Regions from separate parts of the Homo sapiens genome. Here all the other regions are linked to region 3. The links are contacts of gene promoters, found by promoter capture Hi-C in blood cells and fetal thymus (Javierre and others, 2016). All regions are on one chromosome and are shown on one strand. Each heading gives the region's core, a stretch centred on a gene start or on the middle of the fragment in contact. The rest is flanking DNA. Distances are from core to core; before and after follow the strand shown. Region 1 overlaps CNTLN (centlein). Region 2 overlaps CNTLN (centlein). Region 3 holds the start of CNTLN (centlein). Region 4 overlaps CNTLN (centlein). Region 5 overlaps CNTLN (centlein).

Region 1 (5,295 bases), core at 1,684-4,183, 210 kb before region 3:
GTTATGCTAAGTGAAAGAAGATAGTCTAGGACCACGTACTAAATGATGCCATTTATATGCAATGTCTAGAATAGGCAAATCTGTAAACACAGGAAGAAGATTAGTAGTTTCCTAGGGCTGGGCAGGATGGATGGGAGGGCTGGGGAGTGACAACAAAGTCATATGGGCTTTGGTGGGGAGAGTAGCGGGGGGTGATAAAACTGTAAATCTAAAATAGATTGTGATAATGGACGGTGCAGCTCTGAATATACCAGTGAATTATATACGTTATATAAGTGAATTGTATGACTTGTGAGTTATATTTCAATAAAGCTACTGAAATTATTAGGAAATGCCTCTGAGACAAATCTATGAGTCTATAAAATAGTTTTCAAGATAAGAGCCTTCATTATAGCATCAAATATTTAGAACTAATAGAGTATACTGCACTTTAAGTGGTAAATGGGAGCATACAACATTTAAATCTCATATGGTCTAGTCATTTCCTCAAAAGTTTATCATTACATGGAAAAGGCTGTAAACAAAAGTTATACATGTTATCATGTAGTATATAAAATAAGCTTCTCATTTACAGCTAAGAAAATTCAGTGACATTTAATTACATTACACCATAATGAGGCTATATTCTAGCAATCTGAAAGACATCTAGGCTTTAAAAAACTGTATGCTTGAGTGTCAGGCATTAACTCTAAATGAAGAAATAGTTAAGTAGCAGAAGAGGTTAATTATATTGGTCTAACTCCTTTTAGTCTTAAAATTAAATAAATAAATGTTCTTTCTTTGCCAGGCTGAATATAATAGCCTGTGAATTATAAGATCAAGCGACCAACTGTATGTTTTCTAAAATATGAGTATCCTTCATCAAGTTTTATACTTAGGGCAGCTAAAACACCTATGTGGAAAAATCAGCAGTAAGCCCAAAGGACAGGCAGGGCACAGCAAGAAAGAAGGCAATTCCCTTGTGTCTTCTGCAGGTCACTACCAAGGACCATGTTAGCAGATCCACACCAGACCCTTAACAGGCAGTTCTGCTGCTACCAGTAATTAGCTTGGACAGCTCCAGCTCCAAGAGTAGCAGCAAGGCTACACCATAATGAGCTCAGCTGGGATTAGCAGGACAGGGCAGGGAACCAAGAGAGCTCAGGCATTCTGCATTGCGTATGTATCTAGGAGATCAAACAAGGATGGCTGGCTAGGTTATCCCCTCTCCACCTCATTCCAAAAATGAAGCACGGCAGCGTCTAAAATACAGGCTAATGAAGAGCGACACCTCCAACAGATGAGAGCCACACTAATTAACACAATCCCTAGATCATATTATCCAGTTTCTGTTAGAGCTAGCAACTGTGCAACTTGTTATTGCATAATACATATATATATTTTTAAAAGCTAGTCTTTTTTTCTTTACTTTTATTGGCAAAAATCAGATTATTTCAAATTTTATAAAGTGTTTCTTTAATAGCTTTTAAGCCATGAAAAAATTTCTCCCAAGTATTTTATCTAAGTCCATATTGTTAAAAATGAAACTCACTTTTGAATCATTAGCTCCTGGTTTTCCCTTTTGAAATATGCCAGTTCATTCCACACAGCGTCAGAATCTTCTTGTCGAAGTTGTTGGGGATCTGCTCTCTTTATTTTCCTGATTTCAGTCCTATTTTTAAAACAAAGTTGCTTTTTCAATTAACATGTCTGAAGTGCAATAAAAATTATTTTATACATTCCTTAAAATTTAAAAATATCTATTGACCAAATTTCTAACTCGAGTTCACCATTTATTGAATGAATTTCCTAAAACCTAAGCATGTAGAAATCAAAACCCTCTATCATAATTTTTTGAAGCTAAACTGCTACTGTGGAAAGCAAACTTTTAAGCAGACACATGATATTCTAAGGTCTATTGCTCCCATTCAGTCTAGTAGTAATGAAAACAGACACTGTAGAATTTTAACGGTCCCCCCCGCATACAAAAAAATCTATATGCAACCAACTCATCTGGAATTTGCTGCTAACCAAGATGAATGTGGTACAGATGCCTTTATCTTTTAAAAAAACTATTACCAGTGAATATGTCAGAAAGTAGATTTCACTCTTCTAATGATTAGTTAAGCTGGGTGAACAGAGGATAAATCTAGGACAAACTGCTTTATCACTGCTTTACTGACAAGTGATACAAAACACTTCCACTCATCAAAGAAAAAAATTAGATGTGACAATTATCTACAAGTGATGCCAAATGCCCTTTACATTTTCATTTTCTGAACATAAAACAAATTCTTCATTTTTATTTTGTAAAAGTGCCGTACTGGCCAATTTAGAAACAGTATTTCTCTACAGAACAGACCAATGTGTATCATCAACATTGCCCTAAAGGATCCATCTCAAAAGATGAGAAGGTAGTAGATTTTCTGTACTCATTCAGTCCTTTGCCCTCTGTTGATACAGTTAACAGGGGAGCCACTTACGACTAACCAAGATCTGAACACCTGTTCAGAGCAATTGAACTGAGACCGCCAATTCATTCACATAAGCTGGAGAACAAACTGATGGATAGTAAAGATCTTCAAATTGCATACTAGGTTGAAGTAGTTTTAAGATAGTTAACTATATATGTGAATTTCATATTTCTCTAGTCTTTCCACTAAAATTTAAATACTTTTGGAGTTATAAACATTTTAACACCAGTATTTTATTTATTTAAAAGCAAGTTTTTCAATCACACGGATATTAACCATTTTTGCTTTAAATTACATAATTTTATTAAGTTATTCCATTGATATTAAAAATGTGTACAATAATTCATAATCATTGACTGCTAATGATATCTGCAAATGTGAGGAAAATCTATAGTTATTACCAACACATTCCTCTGTTTTAATTTGTTATATTCTCCATTTAAAAATTCACAATAAAGATTTGACTACCAAATAATTTCTTTAAAACCAAACAAAAGCCATTAAGACACCTATATAATGCTACTCCATTCCATTTAATATTTAGGGAAATGCCTTTATGAGCTATGTAACTCACATGCCACTGCCTTCTTCCCACTGTTTTAATTGCTCTTTTACTGCTCTGTAGTTGGTCTGTAACATCTGTAGCCGTTCCTTGCGTTTTTCATGGGCATCTCTTAGCTCATCATTTTCTTGGCTCTGTAGAACACAAAAAAGCAAGTATATATAAGTTTGAAGAAAGTATTAATATAATGTTTCAAATAAAAGGTTACCCATCTAAATATGAAATTTGAAAGAAAATAGTGTGTAAACATAAATGAATCTGTAATATGTATTTAAGCAGAAAAAAGAATTTCTCTAGTCACAGAATACATTTGCTTGATAAATTCAACTCAGTCAATGCATTTTTTAAGCTGCTCACATAATTTCAAAATTTTACCATTAAGATAGTTTCACTCCTTTCCCTGTTGTTAATTAGTATACATTCATAAACCTATCTTACATGTTTTTAATTATTTTCTTTTTCAGCATAAGGTTTTATCTATACATAAACCATGATTATTTTATTAAAGTGCAAATATAATTAGTATAAGAACATTAATCAGAGTAAGAACAATTATTTAGCACATGAATTCATAACTAATATTTACTAAGGCACAAGGATTACACATAAGGAAGAAAATGAGATTGGACCCTATGTTAGAAGGAGCATAGTTTAACCTTCTGGGGTTGTACCATGAAGAACTGGAATGGGAAAGCTAGGCTTACAACTCTTAAAGAGGTTATAAAACAAGCCATCCAAACATTGCTTTGTTGTGTCAATACCTAGGTTAGACAATTATAGTCAACTACTTCTTTTTTATTTATTTTTATTTTTCTGGAAACAGGGCTTCCCTCTGTGGCCCAGGCTGGAGTTCAAAGCTCACTGCAGTCTCAAACTCCTGGGCTCAGGCAATCTTCCCATGTCAGCCTCCCAAGTAGCTAGGACTACAGGCATACAGTATCACACCCAGCCAATTTTTTATTTTATTTTTGTAGAAACAGGGTCTCACTCTGTTGCCAAGGCTGGTCTCGAACTCCTGGTATCAAATGATCCTCCTGCCTCAGCCTCCCAAAATGCTGGAATTACAGGCATAAGCCACCGTGTGTGGCACAGTCAACTACTTCCAATATATAGCACATGAGATCAATTTTCATTTTTAGATATATATAAAATGAATTTATAAAGACGAAATTCTTAGTCCTCAGAAGATATATGCACATGACTATAAACTGTGTTTCTCAAAGTAAAATAAGTAACTTCTCCAGTTTCTTCCCTCATGAGAATTTCAAATATTTTAATAACTGTTATTCATATTTCTGTATGAATGAACTTGTATACTTATGTGGTGGAGGCAACAGATACTCTCTAATATTATAGTGAGGTGATATGAGTAGGCATATGGTAATCAGAAAGATCTGAATTCCATTCTTGGAGCTTGCTCCTGTTAGTGGCATTATCTTAAGAACACCATTGAAATTAATTCAAGTTTTTTCCTGCAAAATATGGAAGAGAAAAAAGAGGTTTAAATTTTGATGAAATAAGTTAACCTAGGTGGTGGGGCCCCAGCCCTTTTAAGGACACAAAGCAAAAGTTAGCTTCTTTCAGTCTCCTTTTCCCACATGTTAACAGTGATGCCCTTATCTTTTAGAAACCAAGTAACTGTTTCTTGACCTCTCATCTAAACAGTGAGATAATACTTTATAGAGTCTGCATTATTTTACTGCAATTCTAGCTGTCTTAGCAGTATGGGTAGTCTGTCATTCTACTTTCACTATATTTCTACTAGGATAGTTCTCTTAAGTAGTTATTAAGAAGTATTTGAGTCTTGTTTGTAACAAGAAGTGTTCTATATGCCGTACAGAAATGAAAGTGCTTGATGAAAAAGCAGAATGGATTCAGTTGACAAAGGCATTCAAAATAAATGTTTCCTAAGTAGTTTTAGAAGATATACAAATCACACATAATGCAAATTTGCTAAAGTAGGATAGTTTAATATATGAAGTAAAAGTAAAAACCTCAGGTTACTGAGTTCAATTTTGTTCATTTCAATTTAAGAACCATACATGAAGAGTCTATTACACGTAGGATGCTGTGTTGATAAGAGTTCAAATCTAGCTGCTCAAAGTTAACTAAATTTTACTTTGATCTAGTTACTTAAATTCAGTTAACTCAGGTTATCCATCTTCAAAATAGAAGCTATTTATATCTCTTCTTCTAAGACATAGAGAATAATTTAGTCTTGAACTTGAGTTTTTCATATTAATTTGGTTAACAATCCAAATACTACTTAATGTCTTTGAA
Region 2 (5,951 bases), core at 646-3,145, 170 kb before region 3:
TGTAATACTTTTAATTCAACTCACCTGAGTCTTAGAGCTAAATCCCAATTATTATTCGAAAATATTAAAATGAATCTATGTGAAAATGTTTGAAATTTTGAATAAATAATTTCATCTCATTATTGCAAGATTATTCAAATTAGAAAACAATCTAAAAATATGTGTAGACAAGGAATAAAGACAATACATATAATGCTCTAGAATAAGAATGAATAATCTGACATAAATGAACACTAAAGTATGAACAATAACACACCTGACAAATAAGGCAATGTGATCATTCACAAATTTTAAAATCCTGCACTACACAACTACTACATTTTTGAGGAGAAAAAAAAAGCGTTAGTAAAAAATCTTCAGAAGCTCAAAAAGTTAAAAAGTGTGATGTAATAGCAAGATAAAAGAAACCAAATGGATACAATCAGGAGAAACAATGGCCAGAGAAAAATGATGGAAGCCCTTTTCACAGAGAAAGGTAACTGCTATACTCTGGTCACCAAAAAGAGAGCAATGAAATCTTCTGAATAACATTTAACTTAGATATCAGGATAAATATTCCAACATTAGAAATTATTAAGTGTTGAAAAAATTTGGATGAGAATGGATAATGCAAGTTTGTAGAATCTGTTTACCGAGGCTTTTAGGGATAAGACCTCACCTTTCCATTTAAAACTGAACTATACTGTTGGCTTTATAATAAAGTTTAAGAATTGCATTCTGGACCCAAGATTACCTAGATCTGAATTCTACACAGGTAGCTGTTTGACTTTAGACAACACTCTAAGCTTCAGTTACCTGATCTACAAACAGGGATAAAAATAACAATACCACATCAGGTTGGTGCGAGGCTTAAACAATCAGGCAAAAGCCCTATCGCCAGTGCCTGATACACAATAAGCTAAAAAATGTTAACTATTATTATTATATGGTTACTAGGAGCAATTTACATTTTTATCTCGATTTACATAAAACATTTCTAAAATAATTTGTGTAAATGGAAACTCAGATTCTCCCTGGCTTATAGTACAATTTTACATTCTGTCTTTATAACTGTGATCTAACTGGAAGGACTTCTCACTTGTATTTTGTTTCTCCACATTTTTCACCACTGCAGAACCATTCATCCACCCAAAGTCAAACATTAAATGGACTAGAGTAATATTTAAATTAAAATAGAAACATCGCCATAAAGTTTTAAAATACAATTATGATTTTTAAATTGCATTATCCAAAGTGGGACATCATAGCATGCAATGTCTCAAGTTTCAGTAACTTAACGTTTACTGATCATGTAGTAGGCAGGTCCCCTTAGAATCCATGACCCCCGTACATTCTTATTATGGCATAATTTTAAAAGGGTATGTTATGTACGAACTAATTAAAAGTGAATTGGGCCAGGCACAGTGGCTCACACCTATAATCCCAGCACTTTGGGAGGCTGAAGCGGATGGATCACCTGAGGTAAGGAGTTCGAGACCAGCCTAGTCAACATGGTGAAACTCAGTCTCTATCGAAAAGTACAAAAATTAGCTGAGTGTGGTGGCACGTGCCTGTAGTCCCAGCTACTGGGGAGGCTAAGGTGGGGGAATTGCTTGAAGCCTGGGAGGCAGAGGTTGCAGTGAGTCGAGATCGTGCCACTGCACTCCAGCCTAGGCAACAGAGTGAGACACTGTCAAAAAAAAAAAAAAGTGAATTGCATATGGTTAATATGATGTTATAGCTTCATAAAAGGAAGTCTTCCCTGGGTGGATAGGTCAGTGTGTGTGTGTCTGTGTGTGTGTGTGTGTGTGTGTGTGTGTGTACACATATGTGTAGTCAGTACACTATAATGAATAGTAATAGTCTGAACTGACAAAGAAATGTTTATTGCAGCTTTATTTACAATAGTAAAACAAATAACATATATAACCAACAGTAGAAAAATAAATTATATGACCATCTAAAATAGTTATATGTTATGATTTTTTAAAATATAATGTTAAAGTGAAAAATACTAGTGTGCTAACAAATATGTTAAGATGCATTTTTAAAAGTGAAATATTCAAAATGTTCACAGTATTTGCCTCTGGGAGATGGAATTATAAAAGACTTTGTTTTTTAAAATAACTACATACAGCCACCAAAACAATTGTAATGTCTACTAACTGTAGACAAAATTTATAAAGAATAAATAAATAAGAAGAATATTTTCAAATTGAGTCTAGTTGAGGATACTAATGAAAACTGTATGAACAACTACAAGCATCTAAAACAACTACAAAATTAAAATATTACAGTGGGAGGTACAATTTCAAAGTGAGAATCAACTTAAGTATCAGTGAAGCCCCCTACTCCCACACTCCCCAAGGTAATCTCTGAGAAACAAAAATAAAAGAAAAATGATATTCAATCTAGAGAAAGAAATGACAAAAAACAGACTAAACACAAGGAAAAGTAAGCCAATTATTAGGTTAGCACATCTCAGTTTGTTCTCTTTTATTTTTATTCTGCCTCAATATCATTCACAAACACAACATAACCCCATCATTTACATCTCTCATTTTCTATAATGATTCTTGGAAGGGATAAACATAATCCTAGAAGAAAAGTGTTTACGGTTTCAAAATGTACCCCAGATCACAATTTAGGTTACGGCAAGTTCGCCAAATAGGGGCATATAAGCTCTACTTCTCCCAATTTAGTAAAGACATACACTAGGGAATTTCTGGTTTGAACTAGAGTCCATTTGGAAAAGTTATCAGAAATTAATTTGTCTCTTTGATATCTTATCTTCTCAGCAAAGTATTACTGGTATGACACCATCAAGGAGAGCTTTCTTTATCCTTAGTCTTGGAACAGGCCCCCAGTTATGCTCCCATATTTCCCTCTACTACTATTACAACATACATCATTCTTTTCTTGCTTCTACCATTTAATGTCTGCTATCAACTAATTTTAAACTGTAAGAGTTGTAGAATAAAGGAAGTAAAATGGTATCTATGCAGATAACTGGGCAGGAAAGCTTTCAGGCACTGGAAGAAAGTATTACCTTGAAAGGTTAAATACCTGTTATGTTCAAGGAATAAAAACATGGTTTGTGTTGCTGGAGTGAATAAGAAAAGAAGGCAAAGATGAGATCAGAGAGGTAATGTAGAGTCGGAACATGTAGAGTCCCACAGGTTGTAGTAAGAACTTAGGTTTTTTATTTTTAATGGTCTGGGAAACCACTGGAGGGACTTGAAGAGAGCAGTGATCTGATTTGACTCACAAAGTTTTGGCAATAATATCCTGGCACCTATGTCAAAAGGCTTAAGATCAGAACAAAGAAACTGGCAAGTTACTGCAATAATCCAGGTAATATGTGATAGTGGCCTGGACAGAATGGTGACAGCAAGGGTGGTGGGAAGTAGTCGAATTCTGCACCTGTACTGAAAACATAAAAGGCAATAGCTTTGTTTTGAACACGTTCAGTATGAGATGCCCATTAGGAATCCAAGTGAAGAGATATTAAGTAGGCAATTAGATATACTCTTTCCTAGAGTATACAGAAGAGATCCAAGGTAGATAAACAAATTTACAAATTTGGGAATCATCAGCCTATAGACACAGGTAGAGCATACAAATCAAAAAATCTGAAATGCTCCAAAATCCAAAACATTTTTGAGCACCAGTATGATGCTCAAAGGAAATGCTCATTGGAGCATTTCAGATTTCAATTTTTCAGATTTGGGATGCTCAGCCAGTAAATGTAATGCAAATATTCCAAAATCTCAAAAGCTAAAAATGTGAAGCACTTCAGGTTTCAGGTTCCAAGCACTTCAGATAAGGGATATTGAACCTGCAGTGTAACTTTGAAAGTCAAGGTGATTAGATGAAATCACCTAGGGTGTGAGGATAAACAGAAAAAAAAGGAGAGATCCTAAGAGTGAGGCCTGGAACATTTTCACACTTTACAGGACATGGAGACTGGGGAGGACCACAAAGAAATTAAAAAGGGACAGCTAAAAACTGAAGGAAGAAAGCCACCCAATTATAGTACAATGGAAGCCAAGAGGGGAAAAAAATGTTTCAAGCAACAGAAAAAAAATGTTCCAAGCAACAGAAAGTCATCAATGGGGGAAAAAGAGAAAACAATTAATTAGTATTAATAACAATTAACAAGTATTAATAAAGTACAGTGTTTCAAATCATTTTAGCAATGGAACGTGCTTTAGAAACAAAAAACACAGTGGGCAATGTCACCCCATAAAACAAAAAGGCAGCACTGCTCTAGCTGAAGTGGAAGACTGTATCTTCCTGCTTGCTATCATCTAGGTCCTTGGGAAAACACAAAGGCAACACAAAACACACACTGAAAACCACTGTTACAAAGCATCATTTAAAAATATGTGTTTAAGTTTTAAGGTAATTAATTTCATGTTAATTATAGACATTCGATTTTCACAGTGATTTTTTAGAAAAGTAAGATCAGAAGTAAAAATCCAGTAATTCTAGAGGGATAATATGAACTGTGTATTATTTAACCTCTCTAAGCCTCACTTGCCTCAACTACTATCATTAAATGAGAATAACACTATATAAACTACATTATTTATTAAAATAATTTAGCACACTACACAAAACATATGAAGAATTCAGTAAAGGTTTTTTTTTTTTTTTTTTTTTTTTTTGAGACGTTGTCTCCCCCTGTCGCCTGGCTGGAGTGCAATGGTGCGATCTTGGCTCACTGCGACCTCCGCCTCCCAGGTTCAAGTGATTCTCCTGCCTCAGCCTCCCAAGTAGCTGGGACTACAGGCATGAACCACCATGCTCAGCTAACTTTTTGTATTTTTAGTAGAAACAGGGTTTCATCATGTTGGCCAGGATGGTCTCGATCTCTTGACCTTGTGATTCGCCCGCCTCAGCCTCCCAAAGTGCTGGGATTACAGGCATGAGCCACCATGCCCGGCCAATAAAGGTATTTTTTTTAATTAGTAGATTAAATTATTGCTGCTGAGTCAGTTAGCACACCTAAATACTTGGGTAAACCTTCTTGAAAGGCTCCTAAAACAACTGTAAAGTAAAAGACTACTGAACAGAAACACACAAAATAAACAGAGAAAAATCCTGGAAAATATTGATCCTAAAGCCCTCCTCAGCAATCCCCTTTGTATTTGTGAAGATTTGCCGAAAAATAATGTACAAATTTTACAATGAAAGTCTGCCATACTTGACAAAATAATTTCTTGTAATAGCAGGCCGAGGAATTCCATTCCAGTTTTGAGACTATACTCCTAGTATGTTTCACAGAAGCTGTCTGAATGCCAATTTATAAAAATAATACCCTATAGAGTAAGTTTGTATCTATATTTTAAGTGATTCAGCTCTAATTACCATAAAGAAAATTCAAAAAATTTTAAATGTTATCAAATTGAACCATCCTTCACTTCTAAATTTTGAGGAAACACATGTAAAAGGAAGTAAAAATTAAATGCTGAAATTTGAAAAAATCTGAATTCTATATATGTTCATAAGTTCATACATAAACATTTACATCTTTATTACAGAATAAAAGCATACTTTTTGATATGATATACTTTCAGCTGTGTGAACATCTTCCTGATTTCTCAGTACTTTTTGTGTGTCCATATTGAGAACCTGAAGCTGCTGGATCAGCTCTGCTTGCTGGGCTGTATGTGTACTGTTCTGTTTGTAAAGATTCTGCAGCTCCTGCAGTTCCTTCCTGTGCAAAGCAAGCAATAAATAGAGAAAAGTATGGATAAAGATCATCTCAGTTAAATAATTGTGTTCATCTAAGGTTACAGATTGGCATCCTGTTTTGCATCTGTTATTTGTACTGCAGGCAAACTTATTAATAAAAGAAATAATGACATATTTAATATTTATCACATACACACAGAAAGTATTGATACAACGACTATGACTTTCAAAGCCAGATACATATTAATTTTCTTTTGTAGCTTTATAGTAAT
Region 3 (5,742 bases), core at 621-3,120:
CTCAGAGTATCAAAGGCCTTTATCATGGGTTCACATCTTAAAACTCCCCAAAGGGTGAGGTCTGCAGATGACAAATGCTTCAATTCATTGTTGTCATTTATTTATCCCTTTGCTCCTTATCCAACGAAGAACAGAAAAATGGTAAAACGAAAAGAGGGCACCATATTAAATGTCCCAACCTTGTTTAACCAAAGGCACATTCAATTTGAAGATGGTCCCATTTTTACACCCTTCACTCAGTCAGCAAGGACCTATAAAATGGGCAAAAGAATCCAACAGAACAAACTATGAGAGAATGAATTTCTGTAATCCCAGCACTTTGGAAGGCCAAGGCTGGCGGACCACGAGGTCAGGAGATCGAGACTGTCCTGGCTAACACGGTGAAACCCCATCTCTACTAAAAATACAAAAAATTAGCCAGGCGTGGTGGCGGACACCTGTAGTCCCAGCTATTCGGGAGGCTGAGGCTGGAGAATGGCGTGAACCCGGGAGGCGGAGCTTGCAGTGAGCTGAGACTGCACCACTGCACTCCAGCCTGGGCGACAGAGAATGAATTTCATGAACTGTTTTATTAAACTGATGATACTGTTCACAAAGTTACTTTGATGTTCAGCAGCTCCTAATTGGTTTCTAAGTTGAAGACAGAGTGACTTAAAGATCTACTGTTCAGTGAGTTTCCCACATCCAATCTCCCAACCCTATCTAAAGGTTCTGGTAAAATCAAAAGAGATGATGGTAAGGATGCAAAACTAAAGGAAAATTCAATCTCTTTGAACATGAGTATAGTCAAGTCCATCCTTACAAAAACTCTACAAACAGGAAAGTAATTTTAATGCAATTGATTTAGCAAATGTTTTTCACTGGCAAGATCACATGAAAATGTGATTTCTCACTCAAGGACCGCGGAATTACCATAGCTGGTTAATAAACAAGTACCAAGCATCATCTATTGTTAAGTTCCCGGCTCTGAGACTTTCTAAACGTTACTCGTCTGTGTTTACAACTTAAGTTTGACTGGGTAAAAACAAAGCCAAGTGTGGGTTTGAAATTTTAAAAACAGGCTCCTTCATCGATGGATTTTACTCTAACCGAAGTGTTTACACTTTCCTGTTCATTTCAACTAGTGGACTGCATGTCACTCCTGGGCCCCCGGCAGGTATCAGCTACCGTCACCACCAAGAACTTGGGCTTGGGGGGGAAGCGGAGAGGATGCGACTGCGAGTATCCAAGTGACCAAAACCAAACCCGGGCGCGGAGGCGAAGCCTGTCTGGCCGCAGTTCGGAAAGGGGCAGGGGCCCGGGTTTGGGGAGCCGGGCGCAGCCGCGTCCCTCCAGCCCCCGGCCGCGAGCGAAGCAGGGTGTGCATCTGCCAGGGAGCGTCGCTGGGCGGGGTAGGTCCCAAGGCAGAGGGAGAAAGGCGCGCCTCCCCACGGGTCCCGGCCCCGCTGTGGTGGGGAAAGGGGGACTGCGAGACTCCTCGATACCTGACACAGGGCCAACTCCTCCTTTAGGCTGCTCAGCTCTTCCTCCAGCAGCTGCGTCCGGGTCACCATCGCCTCCTCTACCGAGATGCCCTCTAGCCGTCTGGACCCCATGGGCGCGCTGAGGAGGGGAGCATGAGCCGGAGCTGCCCCCCCAGGCCCTCGCCGGCCCCCTGACCCTTCTTCACCCACCCAGATTTTATCACTTTCGTCCGCGACCACCTCCCGCGCTGCGCCGGCAAAACCCGAGGCCTCGCTGCGCATTGCGTGTACTTCAGCTCCCCGCCCAACACGTGGGGACCTGGGGCCCAGCTGTCGCGCTGGGGGCGAAGGGTGCGGTGAGGGAGGCGAACGCGCCGCCATGGCTGCGGCTGCTAACGGGTCAAGTTCCCTGTTGGAAACTCCACCTCCCTTTCCCCAACCCGGCGAGCCCGGAACGCCGAACCGCGCATGCGCGAGGCTTTTCCCGCCTTGGCCCGCGGTGTCCCGTGTTCTCTGGTCCTGGCCGGCTTCCCGCGGGCAATGCGCCCAGCGCGAGCCTTGGGGTACGCACGCGCCGTGGCCCGAAAGGGTAAGGCCGGTCCGCCGGGCAGGCCATCCCAGCGTCCTGTGCCTGAGTCCTTGGCCAGGATCGCCTGGATTTCCCGCCCACCTAAAGCCCTGCCTGCCACTTACATCCCACCTCTTAAAGCCTTCCTTGACAAGCCCCCAGCCCCAAATGATCCTTAACTGTGAAATCCCTCTCCTTCAAGGCCCCTGCCAACTCGTGTGACACGTTTCATTGACCGCCCTGGAGTGTCAGTTACACGGCTAATCTCCCCAGCCCTGTTGTAAGCTCCTTGAGGATCAAGGAATACGTTTTACACTTAAGTGTTTTCTTCACACCCCTTGGCAAAACTGCTTTAGTACAGCTGACATCCAGCTGACTAATGTCAAGGAGATGTGGAAAGCCTTGTGCTGATCTGGGACTATCAAGCAGGTTTCCAACTTGAATGATGATCCTTTGTACACCCTTTGTCTTTTGTTTTGCAGGAGTCATGATTTCCTTTGAGTTTTTATGTCAGCTTCTTTATGCGTTGGCTGGATATCAGAGGAAGTGTAGCCCACATTGCTGAACAGTTTGGGTCCTTGGAGCAGTTTGAAATCAGTAATTTGGAGCGTGGATGAAGAAACAAGACCTACTTTATCTTTTGTTCTCTTTTTTTTCTTTTTCTTCTGGCTTTCTTTATAAACTTCAAATAGGTAGTAATCGTATCTTTCTTTGCCCTTCAAATACTTTGTTACTATTGATAAGATTAATGAGATGCATATTGAGCTGGCACCAGAACATCCCTGAAAGTTAGAACTGCCCTCTTCTTCAGAAAGGGTTCCAGAATACTTGGGGAAAGCTGAGATGGGGGTTGAGAGCAGAAGTAGAGAGATGACCACTTTACTGTTAACTTCATTTAACCAAAATATCACCATCTCTGCATGAGAATCTAGTCAGGATGCCAAAAGACACCCTCCCAATTAGAATCCTGCCAAGGCAACCAAGATAAGTGGACTTCTTTCAAACTGAAGGTGAATTCCTCACAAAAACTTATTAAAGAGTACATTAGAAAAAGTATGTTTATAAGCCTGTCTTAGAACTAGCTAACCTACTGAACATTTACCATATGCTGAGTCCAGTGCTAAGCACTTTTCATATATGAACTCACTTAATACATATGTCACCTTCAATTAGATTATTATATATCTCCATTTTTACTAGTGAGGAAACAGACTTGCAAGGTTACTGTAACTTCTCTGAAGTGCCATGTCTGGTATCAGAAAAGCTAGGCTTTGAATTCACTGAATTCCACTTAACTCTGAAAACCTGTACTTTGATCGCTACCCTGTCTCCACACCTGTGACTTGAAATACAACATTTGGTCTTGATAGTCTGTGAGATTTCACTAGACTTAAGACTGGGAAGTCTAACCACATAAGTTACGTGTTTGGCCCCAAATCAGTATTAATGCACATTTTTAATTGCTGTATGTCATTCACTCAAAAGGACATCATTTCACCTGATCATAAAAAGATCCTTTTGAAAAGCAGTGGTATAAATATGTATATGTGACCTCCCAAAAGGATAATATCCTGACTCTTTGACTAGGCATTTTTTTAAATTTTGTCTTTATTGGAGCAAAATACACAAAATACACAACATAAAATTTACCATCGTAGGCATTTTAAATGGCTACAAATAGGCCAGGCGTGGTAGCTCACGACTGCAATCCCAGCACTTTGGGAGGCCGAGGCTGGTGGATCACTTGAGACCAGGAGTTCGAGACCAGCCTGGACAACATAGTGAAACCCCGTCTCTGCTAAAAATACAAAAATTAGCTGGGAGTGGTGGTGCATTCCCGTAATCCCAGCTACTAGAGAGGCCACGGCAGGAGAATCATTGGAACACGGGAGGCAGAGGTTGCAAACAGCCAAGATCATACCACTGCACTCCAGCCTGGGTGATAAAGCAAGACTGTCTCAAAAAATAAATAAATAAATAAAATGGCTACAAATAAAAAACAATTCAGCAGCATTAACTACATTCACCATGTTAGGCAACCACCACCACTATCTGGTTCCAGAATATTTTCATCACCGGAGGCGGAAACCACATACCCACATTAGTCTCTCCACATTCTCACTGCCCCCGAGCCCCAAGCAACCATTAATTCCCTTTATGTCTCTACGGTTTTGCCTGTTTGGGATATTTCATATCAATGGAACCATATAATATGTGGCCTTTTGTGTCTGTTTTCTTTTATTAGCATAATGTTTTCAAGGTTCATCTATGTTATGGCATGTATTAGTACTTCATTCTTTTTTATAGCTGAAAATATACCATTGTATGGATATCCTCCATTTTGTTTATCCATTCATCTGTTAATGGACCTTTGGGTTCTTTCTGCCTTTTGCCTATTGTGAACAGAGCTGCTATAAACATTCACGTACAGGTTTTTGTCTGAACATTTATGTTCAATTTTTTGTTTATATACCTATGAGTAGAATGTCTAGGTCATATGTTTAATTTACTGAGGAATCACCAAACTCTTTTCCACAGTGGTTGTGTCATTTTACCTTCCCATAAGCAATGTATTAGCATTCTAATTTCTCATCATCCTCACCAACACTTATTTTTTGTTTTAGTTTTGTGTCATTTGCTTTTTTTAAATTATACTTTAAGTTCTAGGGTACATGTGCACAACGTGCAGGTTTGTTACATAGGTATAAATGTGCCATGTTGGTGTGCTGCACCCGTTAACTCATATTTACATTAGGTATATCTCCTAATGCTATCCCTCCCTCCTCCCCCCACCCGATGACAGGCCCCAGTGTGTAATGTTCCCCACCCTGTGTCCAAGTGTTCTCATTGTTCAATTCCCACCTATGAGTGAGAGCATGCGTTGTTGTTTGTTTTTTATGGCCAGTCTAGTGGGTGTAAAGTGCTGTCTCCTTGTGGTTTTCATTTGTATTTTTCCCCATGACTAATGACAATGAGCATATTTTCATGTATTTTTTGGACATTTGTTTCTCTTCTTTGGAGAAATATCTATTTATTCAAGTTCTTTGCTATTTTTTAATTGGGTTATTTGTCTTTTTGTTGTAGAGTTATAAAAGTTCTTTACTGGCAGACAATTTTTAAGAAAAGAAACGTGCACATTTCTAGAAGTATGCATAAGGAGTTCTTTCTTGTATTAGTTATTTGCTGAAATGACAGAAACGGATGAAATGTTAAATACAAACACTTATGACTCAGAAGGATAAGTTAAATATCTGCACTGCTATGTGAATAAAAATGTGCAAAACAATCAAGGTGTTTTTCCTGTTCAACTCTTTGTCCTAATATTTAAAAGTGATAGTGTCTGTTCTGAAGAAATACATAATGAAGTCTGCTGAGGATTAAGTATATTAGAATAGAGAAACACATAATTCTCTCAATATCATCACTGTATAGTCGAAATCTTGGGAAATAATGGAAGAAATGTGCCAATTAATATGGTACTTAAATTGCCTCTTTTACTTTAATTTTTAAAATTTATTTTTAACTTCTGTTTTAAAAGAGAAAAAATGTATTAGCCGTTTCTCAGCCTTTATGTTTCTTTGTTTCCAGAAAGAATGAAGAATTTTAAAACCCATGTATTTCTGCTTTACCAGTTTTGTGTAATCTTTATTTGGTCAGCATAATTTAATTAAGTTTTAAAACACTATTAGGTATTGGTAAGACCTCAAACAT
Region 4 (5,310 bases), core at 934-3,433, 250 kb before region 3:
TCTACACAGTCACTACTAGTTTTGTTCTCTGGATCTTGTTCCCTGCCAGGAGGATCACAGTGATTGCTGAACAAAGCAAACAGTAACAGAATTAGGGTGGATTGAAATTGTAACAACCCCTACCACAACCTTTTTTTCAAGTGAAGGATCATGCACTGGGTGAGGTAAACCATACAAATCACTCTTCTAGAAATACTGTGACTTCATAACAAATAGAAAGCTAGGTATATGGGTGAGGTTATAGCTACAAATCATTCCTACACTAGCTATACATTTGACTGCCAAAACCTTTTCAACCAAGCCAAAACCTACAAGTAACTTAACAACCTTAAAGAAAAAACAAAGTCATAAAACTTCAGTTAATACTAAAATCAAAATATATCAAATCCTATAAATAACTTTTTTCTTATCAGATAAATTACTATGACAAATTTTACTAACATTTTCTTAGTGAATTAATTCTGGAATATAACATTTCTTAAGGAATAAAAAGGGGACAAAAAAGAATATATAAAACTAAAAGGATATATATCTGTGTTAGCCTGAGATTATTTTGCTTTAAAGTATGCTTGGCTGCTGTAGGTCAGTGTAAAACTTTGATTTCTCAACAAAGGAAAAAGAAAACAATATTATTCTCTGTAGAGTAGAAATCCTCCTGGTATAAACAGTGACTAACAAGTTTGTTAGAGTGAATTAGGCATTTCTTTTGTCTTTGAAAAATGACATACCCAATTAAAACTTCTGTACTTATGAAATAATTAGAACAGTATCCGAAGGATAATAAAAGCTAGGATAGGTAGAATTTGCCACCTGGGGAATAAGTACCTTTACCTTGATAATAATCTATCAGTTCCCAAGTTTCTTCTTCTAGTCCCCTAACACCATGGTGCTGAATTCATTTACAGCAATCTTTCAGCAGTATAGAAATAATATGCAAATACAATTCATCCTTTCTAGTCATTTAAATATCTGTTATACTTCTGAGTGAAATATTTCATCTTAAAAATAATAGTTCTATATTCAAAGAGCATGGGATGCCAACAATAGCTAAATACTTCCAATAAAGTAAATGGTGAAGACTGATTTAAAAATGAATTTGTGTGCTGCTTGTTTGCTCCTGGATGTGTGTGAGGTCCACTGGTAGATTGGCTAACCATGTTCACCTGTACTTATCTGCTGACGTTTGTTTCTCCCCTTCACCGGTTTATACAGAACGCTCAAGAAGATAAGCTCATGCCATGGAAAGAAACAAGGATCCAATTTTCTGGCCCTTGATTCTCTTTCTCTTCAAGGATCCCAGGATTTGGGAAATAAACCAACAAGACCTAGTTAGAAATACACACTCCTATTTCTTTCCTATGGTAGATGTGAGCATATGCTTCACTTTACTGGAGATTTATTTTTGATATTTTAGTTTTAAATGCTTTACTTTTACTAGTATAAACATTCATTCTAATTTATATTCTTTCTCAGGAGTTTCTTCTCTCCATTTTTTCTTTTTCTCATTAACCTTTAATTTTGCTTATTCATAGTTATTTAAGAGCTTAGTATATTCTATTTTCTATATTTTTTCTTTTAATCCTCTTGGCTTAAATAATTAATATAAAGTTTTCTGCAATCTTTTACTTTGTATTCTTTTAGATTCTTTTTTTTAATTAATTTAACAAATGATTTGAAAAATCTATTATCATTGTTTTTTCCCTGATCTTAATATGAAGCTTCATACAAAAAGTTTCTTAAAGGTCAGTTTGTGATTATATCAATTTGAGGGATTAAGAAAGGAAAACAGTTATCAACTTATTGTATGGGCAATTTCCTAAAGAATATTGCTATTTTTATTTCACTTTTAGGAAAAGAAAATGAGAATCATAGTGGGTAGGTTTTACTTCAGAAGGTACTTGTGATACAATAAGAAACACATACAGTCGTTCCTGTTCCAGGGACCTTCCTGGGATACCTAAATCCAACCATGCTCAAGTCCCTGATGTAGCATTTGCAAATAACCTATGCACATCCTCCTGTATAGTTTAAATAATCTCTATATTACTTATAATAACTAATACAATGTAAATGCTATGTAAATATTGTTATACTACATTGTTTAGGGAATAACAAGATAAAAAGTCTATACATGTTCAATACAGATACAATTTTTTTTCAAATATTTTTGATCTGCAGTTGGTTGAATCCAGGGATGTGGAACCCGTGGATACAGAGGGTCCACTGTATTTGGATTTTGTCCCCAGTTCCTGAAACATAGTTTCTAAAACCTTTGGAATTTCTTGAGTAATAGGACCATCTTTTGTTATTACAAGCAAAGCATAACAAGCTCCTTTCAACCATACCAGAGTTTATGCTTAATAAGATGATTCCTGGTGAGCCCCTAGATAGGTTCAAGATGAGGACTGGCTGCAAGAGGAGGCAACCATGTGATTAGATGGTTTTAACGTCCAGCCCCACCACCAGGCCTCTGCAGAGGGGAGAGGAAATGGAGACTGAATTCAGTCACCAATGGCCAATGATTGAATCAATGATGGCTACTTAATGGAAGCTCCATAACAAACTCTGTGGAGTTTGGAGAAATTCCAAGTTGGTGAACACATTGAGGTGCTGAAGGTGGCATGCTCAGAAAGGACACAAAAGCTTCCTTTTCCTTCCTCCATACCATGAACTATGCAACTCTTCTATTTGGCTGTTCCTGAGTTGTATCCTTTATAATAAACAAGCAATAGTAAATGGAAAACTTTTTTGAGCCATTCTAGCAAATTAACTAATCTGAGGAAGGGCTCCTGGGAACCCCCAATTTAAACTCAGTTGGTCAGAAATACAGGTGGAAACCTGGGACTTGTGACTGGGATCTAAAATGGAGGCAGTCCTGTGGGACACAGTCCTTAATCTGTAGGGTCTGCACTAATTCTAAGTAGCTAGAATTGAACTGAATTGCCCAATTGGAGTTTAGAGAAGCAATGAGTTAGTTGTTGGGTGGAAGAAAAAAACCTATAAAATTGGTGTCAGAAGTATTGTGAGTAAAAATAACTCTGAACACTGTTTCAGATAAGTGAATTGGGGATAAATAGGCAATAATCAGCAAGAACTGCCATGAAAAAGTTTTTGGTTTTTGTGTTAATTTAAAATTGTTGTCTTAGGCAAAATAAAGTCAGATCAGCCAACTATAATTAGAACCCATCTCCTCCGAGAAGTAACCATAAGCCAATGAAAACTGAAGTCCCATTTCTGATGAATGAAATGGCAAGAAATAAATCCTGTTTCTGATGAGTAGGAGAGAATTTCAATCACTTGATATGACTGTTACACTTGGCACCTCTTTCTGGAGACCCAGACCATCCCCTTTGAGTTTACCTGGGCAGGAGGCCTGGGAAGAATCTATTCAATCAGTGAAAATTCAAAGACAATTAGCCCATTTTTGTTACCAGCCACAAATATTCTAAAAAGGAAGTTACCAGGACGATGTAAGTATCTTTTTCTAGGACGAGAGGTAGGAAAACAGAAGGATAAGTAGTTTTTTTTTTTTCATTTTATTTATTGTAAATTACACCCAATAAATAGGCTTCCTTGCCTTAAAAATAAAATGTCTTTAAGCTGGGGACTTGATGAACTCGATCCTATTAGCTCGCTGGATGAATCAGGGGAATTTGAACATGCTATCTTTAATTCCTCTAGCTAGCTTGAAAGCCATGTGTAACACCCTCTTTTTATTTTATGCTATTCCTTAAGCCCACACTTTTAAAATATTTTAGACTGTTTATTTTCTACTTCCAAGTGCTTCATTATATTTTAATTTCGATCTTTATATTTAAATGAATTAGCTTTGTGAAGTTTAACATTGTAACTGTGTTTCTGATTTCATATAAATTTCATGTTACGGGCCGGGCAAGGTGGCTCACGCCTGTAATCTCAGTACTTTGGGAGGCCGAGACAGGCAGATCACGAGGTCAGGAGATCGAGACCATCCTGGCTAACACGGTGAAACCCCATCTCTACTAAAAATACAAAAAAATTAGTCGGGCATGGTGGCAGGCGCCTGTAGTCCCAGCTACTCGGGAGGCTGAGACAGGAGAATGGCGTGAACCCAGGAGGCAGAGCTTGCAGTGGGCCGAGATCACGCCACTGCACTCCAGCCTGGGTGACAGAACAAGGCTCCATCTCAAAAAAAAAAAATTCATGTTACGAATTACTTCTTGCAATTAACTTTTGTTTCAATTTACTTTAATATTTCTCTATATTCCTAATACTCCTTTGGCTTGTTTTAAAAATAATTTTTTTAATTTTAAAATTCCCATTTTTTTTTAAGACAGGGTCCTGCTGTATCACCCAGGCTGGAATGCAGTGGCGTGATCTCAGCTCACTGTAACCTCCGCCTCCAGAGCTCAAGTGATCCTCCAGCCTCAGCGACCCAAGTAGCTGGTAGTACAAGTGTGTGCCACCACACCCAACTTTTTTTTTTTGGTAGAGACAGGGTTGCCCAGGCTGGTCTCAAATTCCTGGATTCAAACGATTCACCTGCCTCAGCCTCTCAAAATCTTGGGATTACAGTGTGAGCCACAGCGCCATGTTGGTAACAACTACAAAGAAGCATGACTTTAAGCATAACAGAAGCAACCAAAATCTGTGTATAAATCATTTATATAGATATATTTGTGTGTGTATATACATATACGTACAATGCATATGTTTTATATAATATTTTATATATTTATATATGTTGAGGGTACAAACAAAGAGAACAGAAAAAGGCTTTAGATAGGAGGTCACACCTCAGTTCTATTGTTAAAGATGAGGAGGTCTTTTCTACATGGAACCTGCAAGAAAGGAATATAGTACTGTGTACACTGGTCCAGAGGTTAAACGCTAAAGCACTTTTGGGGTTTTATTTTGCTGATTTTTCAGTTCCAGGGAGGAAAAAATAATGCTAAACATATGAAAGATAAGGCTAATGAGGTAGGCAGGGGCTAATTTTCAGTGGGATAAATGAATTTGGGCTTTATTTTGCTATTAGCAGAAGTCACTAAATAAGAGAATAAGATCAGAAATATTAACACACCAAGAATAGGGCTGGAAGGAATGCCCTTATGCTAGATTGGATAGCAATTGTAAGTAGTATAAAACGAAACTGCAGTCTGACCTTCCTTTATTTATAAAATATACTGCATGGGTTTTAGAACAATTTTTGTTATTCTCCTTAAATGTTTAGGTACTAGGTATATGCTCAACAGATTAATGACTGTGCATTAAATTATGGTCACAAAGAATTAGTTAATATTAATCATTCCAAGAAGTAAATATTTTAAC
Region 5 (5,671 bases), core at 759-3,258, 230 kb before region 3:
TTCACAATAGCAAAGGCTTGGAACCAACCCAAATGCCCATCAATGATAGACTGGATAAAGAACATGTGGCACATATACACCATGGAATACTATGCAGCCATAAAAAAGGATGACTTCATGTCCTTTGCAGGGACATGGATGAAGCTGGAAACCATCATTCTCAGCAAACTAACAAAACAGAAAACCAAATACCGCATTTTCTCACTCATAAGTGGGAGTTGGACAATGAGAACACATGGACACAGAGAGGGAAACATCACACACTGGGGCCTGTTGGGGTATGGGGGACTAGGGGAGGGATAGCATTAGGAGAAATACTTAATGTAGATGATGGGTTGATGGGTGCAGCAAACCACCATGGCACGTGTATACCTATGTAATAAACCTGCATACTCTGCACATGTATCCCAGAACTTAAAGTATAATTTTAAAAAAAGGAGCATAAGAAAATAAAACGTGCAAGAAAAAAATTAAAAATAAAGATAGTCATCACACAATGATCAAAAATGATTTACCAGGAAAATACATTAGTTCTAGACTTTTATGTACTCAACAACACAAGTTGTTGTAATTATTGTTATAATTATTCAAACAATAAAAAGTTATTTGAAGTAAAAATTAGGTAGCCTCTCCTTCCCCTCACTCAGTATACTTCCTGGAAAAAAAATAATGTTTACACTTTGATATGTATACTCTCATTTTTTGTTCATATATTATAAACATCAATTCACACACATAAGGATTTTAAAAACTGGGATCCCATGATATATACTGGCAGCTTCCCAGGTCCATTACAGATTGATAGGAGGAACACATACACATGCACACACATACACTCAACCACACAATGATTAAGCTTGGATTAGGTTCCTGATTTGTTTATTTAAGAACGTGGAACATACTGAAGCAAGATGGCCCCACAAAGAAAAAGCAGGTGTAACTTACCTCAACTTAGTTTTCCTTGGCTCTCAGATCACTAACCCAACAGAAGGTAGGGCTGCAGTTGTTGGAAAAGTTATTTCTTGCTTCTTAAAACATACTTTATACTTACAGCTTGTTTCTTTTGGAAAGAACACACACAGTCCCTACTTTTAATAAATATTTACAGACATCAGGGACCACCTTGTTCTTGAGTCAAACTAAGCACCAACAAACCATATCTTACTGTGTGTTTGAGGGAGGAGCTGACAGAGGCAGAGCCCTGGTACTCCTGACCAGGATGAGCACTGACTAGCTACTGACTCTGATTTACTATCCACTTACACTGGTGTTTCTTATACTCTGGTATGAGGACCACAATTTAAAATCTATTTCTTACTGGACAAATGATAGGAAACAACTGTATTCGGCCACTGGACAATAGGCAGCACAGAACTGTAATCCCTGAGAGAAAGCAAATAAACAGAGAGAGCCCTTAATGATGGCTCGATTTCTGCCTGAAAGCACTTTCCAGACAGGGAGAGGGGTCCCAAGAAGAACATGACAGTCTCATTGAGTTGAAACAAGAGACTGCAGTTTAGGAAGTCTAAAACAGCCAGAATTTGTGAGGCATATGACCAAGTGAGGAGGAATCTACAGTGGAAAAAAGCTAAAGAAATCTGCATAAGAATTCCTTTGAGTATGTGGCTAATCTTTATTTCTTTTTTTGCATGTGCATAGTATGAAACACAACAAGGCCAGGCAAAGAACAACAGGAGCTATAAACAGAATATTCCCAGAATATTTCTCACACAGGATTGGGATACATTTGAGTTGCGACCAGTCAGAGAAGAGAGAATCTTAGTTGAACATCAGAGGCATTCAATAGAGAACACAGATGGGTCATTCTAATGAGTAGAGATAAACAAGCCTCTAGTAAATGATACTCTAAAACCTGTGCTAAAAAAGTGTTTTAAATGAACAATGAGAACACATGGACACAGGAAGGGGAACATCACACACTGGGGACTGTTGTGGGGTGGGGAGACGGGGGAGGGATAGCATTAGGAGATATATCTAATGCTAAATGAGGAGTTAATGGGTGCAGCACACCAACATGGCACATGTATACATATGTAACAAACCTGCACGTTGTGCACATGTACCCTAAAACTTAAAGTATAATAATAATTTAAAAAAATGGAAAAAAAACTGAAGATATTTAAACTGAGATTTTAACACACCTCTCCCAGTAATTGATGGAAAAAGTGGACAGAAATAAGTAAGGATACAGAACATTTGAAAAACACTATCAAAAAACTTGACCTAACTGAATGTTTTATAAAACACTCCATACCCAACAACAGCAAAACAAATATTCTTTTCAAGTGCCATGGAACATTCAACAAGATAAGACCACATGCTGGGCTATAAAACAATTCTCAGTAAAGCTAAAAGCATTTTAAAATCATGCAAAGCATCTTCTATGACCACAATAGAATAATAAAATTAAAAATAAATACCAGAAGGACGTCTGCAAAATCCCAAAATAGTTGAAACTAAAGAACCTATTTCTGACAAAGAGGTTCTGCTTAACCAATCTTTAGTCAACTCTCCTGAACCTTCTCCTAAGCCCATCTGTGCACTTCCTTGTAAAATCCAGTCTTAGCAAGGAACTCCACTAAGTCAGTTTAGCAAGAATCTCTTCCACCACAATATATAAATCAAGGCCAATATCTAACTGGGTTCCTCATCCTCCACCACCCCCTAGGCTGTATCTGATCACCCTAGCCTGTCTTCAATCAAAATCCTGATAAGGTCAGTTTAGCCAGAATCTCCCTTCCCACTGATGTTTCCTCTTACTAATTTTCCAATCCACTGACCTCTACCTTAGCTATAAATTCCCACTTACCCATGCTGTATTAGGAGTTGAGTCCAATTTTCTCCCCAACTGCAAAATCCGACTGCAGTGGTCCCTACCTATGATGATGGTCCTAAATAGTCTTCTTTACCAAACTTTAACAAGTTTCATTGAATAACATTTTTCTATAATGCTTCTAAACAGTTCTACTTTCAAAGAAGAATCCAAGAGGAACTAGGAATTATTTTGAACTTAGAAAAATTTAAAATACACTTCAAAATTTGTAAGGCACAGCAAAAGCAATCCTTAGATGGATATCTATATTGCAACATACAATACTTAAATTGGAAAAAAAGAAATATCCATAATGATGCAAGCTTCCAATTTAAAAATCTAGAAAAATAAGACACATCAAGATGAACACTTTTTCATGTGCTTATTGGCCATTAGTATGTCCGTATGTCCTCTCATTTGTTTATTTTTATTATTATTTTTTTTTTTGAGACAGCCTCACTCTGTTGCCCAGGCTGGAGTGCAGTGGCAAGATCTCGGCTCACTGCAAGCTCCGCCTCCCAGGTTCACGCCATTCTCCTGCCTCAGCCTCCTGAGTAGCTGGGACTACAGGCGCCCGCCACTACACCCAGCTAGTTTTTTTTTTTTTTTTTTTTTTTTTGTATTTTTAGTATAGACGGAGTTTCACCGTGTTAGCCAGGATGGTTTTGATCTCCGGACCTCGTGATCCACCCGACTCGGCCTCCCAAAGTGCTGGGATTACAGGCGTGAGCCACCGCACTCGGCCTGGATGTCCTCTTATGTGAAATATCTGTTCAAGTGTTTTGCTCATTTTTCTATTGGGTTGACTGTCCTTTTCTTATTTAGTCACAGGAATTCTTCATATATTCTGAGTACTACTACTTTCCTGGACATATATACTGAAAATATCTTTTCATACTCAGAAAGTAGCCTTTTAATTCGTTTAATGGTATTTTTTAATGAACATTAAGTTCTTGGTTTTAACATAGGCCAATTTATCAATTTTTCATTTCTATTTAGTGCTTTTTATGCCTGGTTTAAGAAATTGGGCAGGTGCAGTAGCTCACACCTGTAATCCTAGCACTTTAGGAGGCCAAAGCAAGTGGATTGCTTGAGCTCAGGAGTTTGAGACCAGCCTGGGCAACATGGCATAACCCTATCTCTACAAAAGTACAAAAAATTAGCCAGGCATGGTGGCATGCGCCTGTAGTACCAACTACTTGGGGGGCTGAGGTGGGAGAATCACTTGAACCCAGGAAGTTGAGGCTGCAGCAAGCTGAGATTGTGCCACTGCACTCCAGCGGAGTGACAAAGTAAGACCTTATTTCAAAAAGAGAGGGGAGGGGAGGGGAGGGGAGAGGAGAGGAATAAATATTGGCCTACTACAAAGTCACAAAGATGTTCTCCTATGTTTTCCTCTAAAAGCTTTACTGCTTAACCCTTCACATTTAGACTATAATCAATCTAAAACTGACTTTTGGGTTTGGAGTTGGCTAAAATATTCTATTAAATAGGTTTTTTTGGAATTTTAGCTATGTAGCTACATCATCTGCTATTTTGGTTGTCTCCAAATTTCCATAATTACAAACAATGCTGTAGTGAGCATTCTTGTATATGTGCTCATATACAAGATTCCTTTTAGTGTTTCTAACTAGAAGTAGAATTATTACTTTTTTAGTACATACTTTAAAAAGTAGAAAGCATATTTCAAACATTAAAAAAGTATGGAAAATAATATAATCAACATTAATGTAACAACTAGATTTTAAAATATTCACATTATGCCATATTTAATTCATCACTTTGATTTTTGATATATGTATGTGTATAGTGTATATGTAGTACATACACACGTGTACGTCTACATGTGTGCAGTTATGTGTAACTATATTTTTACAAATGTGTATGTCTACATATACATCTACAAAAATATATAGTATCATTTTGTGATTTCTAAACATTTTACACTTAGAAATTATATCATAGTATATATACTGTTATTCAACTTTCTTCTTTTCAATCAACTTTTGCTTTTTAAGCATTTCTATTTTGATAAGTTTAGATCTAGTTTATGCATGTTAAATGCAGTAGAGTATCAAATTATATTAATGTATCACAATGTATTTGTATCTATCACTAAGAGACATTTAGATTGCTTCTAATTGTTCACTATTACCAAACTGCTGCAGCGAACACCCTTATTCATGCATCCTGTTTCACTACCTTTAAAAACATCATAAGAATCTCTTTAAGAGTAAAATTTTTCTCTCAAGGGTTTTTATATTCCCTAGATAAAACTACAAATATTGGAAAATATATTACCAAATTTAAAACTTTTTTATATCTGAAGATAACTTTACCTGTAACATTCCTACATTTGATTATATATCATTCTTTTCTTCAGAACAAAGTTTCTTAAGAAGCAACTAATCTACACTGAAAACAAACTGTTCTAAAGCCTGAAATACTTTCCAGACTAAACAAACCCTTTGTATCAGTTTCCTGTCATTCAAAATAAATTTTATTATTTAGTCATTAGCATTCAATTCAGATGTTCAAACCCAACATTGTTAAGGTTATTTATTCTAAAGAAAAAAATACTATCAAATAGAATGAGTTCGTGTGACAAAATTGACTTATGGAAAGTAACTTTGCTGTCTTTTCACAGAAAAATCAAATGATTATAACACTCAAGATTTTCTTATGTAATTCTTTAAGAAAATTTAAAAATACTATATATATATGTAGTATTTATATATATATGTAGTATTTATATATATATATATGTAGTATTTATATATATACATGGTACCCAAAATATGTGGAAACAAACTATAGTAGTAAATAAATTTAGAATAA

What was found. The method cuts DNA at HindIII sites, captures the fragments that hold promoters and counts their contacts. A CHiCAGO score of 5 or more calls a contact.
Region 1: a fragment that was not itself captured here is called in contact with the fragment with the promoter of CNTLN in region 3 in 1 of 17 cell types (erythroblasts); the score reaches 6.4 in erythroblasts.
Region 2: a fragment that was not itself captured here is called in contact with the fragment with the promoter of CNTLN in region 3 in 1 of 17 cell types (erythroblasts); the score reaches 5.2 in erythroblasts.
Region 4: a fragment that was not itself captured here is called in contact with the fragment with the promoter of CNTLN in region 3 in 3 of 17 cell types (erythroblasts, M2 macrophages and megakaryocytes); the score reaches 8.6 in erythroblasts.
Region 5: a contact is called between a fragment that was not itself captured here and the fragment with the promoter of CNTLN in region 3, in 4 of 17 cell types (erythroblasts, monocytes, megakaryocytes and 1 more). The highest score is 8.2, in erythroblasts.

Annotation. Positions count from the first base shown.
Region 1 is chr9:17,338,681-17,343,975 of GRCh38, reverse strand. It overlaps CNTLN (centlein), which reads right to left. Exons shown (of 26, transcript NM_017738.4): 11 at 3,028-3,149; 12 at 1,532-1,651. Among named protein-coding and RNA genes, the nearest start is that of CNTLN, 210 kb to the right of the region's middle. The HindIII fragment of the contact is 4,742 bases long and covers 563-5,295 here.
Region 2 is chr9:17,297,940-17,303,890 of GRCh38, reverse strand. CNTLN (centlein) reads right to left here. Exons shown (of 26, transcript NM_017738.4): 7 at 5,539-5,701. Among named protein-coding and RNA genes, the nearest start is that of CNTLN, 170 kb to the right of the region's middle. The HindIII fragment of the contact is 2,216 bases long and covers 788-3,003 here.
Region 3 is chr9:17,131,168-17,136,909 of GRCh38, reverse strand. CNTLN (centlein) reads right to left here and starts at 1,870. Exons shown (of 26, transcript NM_017738.4): 1 at 1,485-1,870. The coding sequence starts at 1,844. RefSeq lists an enhancer at 1,026-1,589. The HindIII fragment of the contact is 13,995 bases long and covers 1-5,742 here.
Region 4 is chr9:17,382,513-17,387,822 of GRCh38, reverse strand. All of the region lies in intron 13 of CNTLN (centlein), which reads right to left. Among named protein-coding and RNA genes, the nearest start is that of SH3GL2, 190 kb to the left of the region's middle. The HindIII fragment of the contact is 925 bases long and covers 1,721-2,645 here.
Region 5 is chr9:17,357,507-17,363,177 of GRCh38, reverse strand. All of the region lies in intron 12 of CNTLN (centlein), which reads right to left. Among named protein-coding and RNA genes, the nearest start is that of SH3GL2, 220 kb to the left of the region's middle. The HindIII fragment of the contact is 2,300 bases long and covers 859-3,158 here.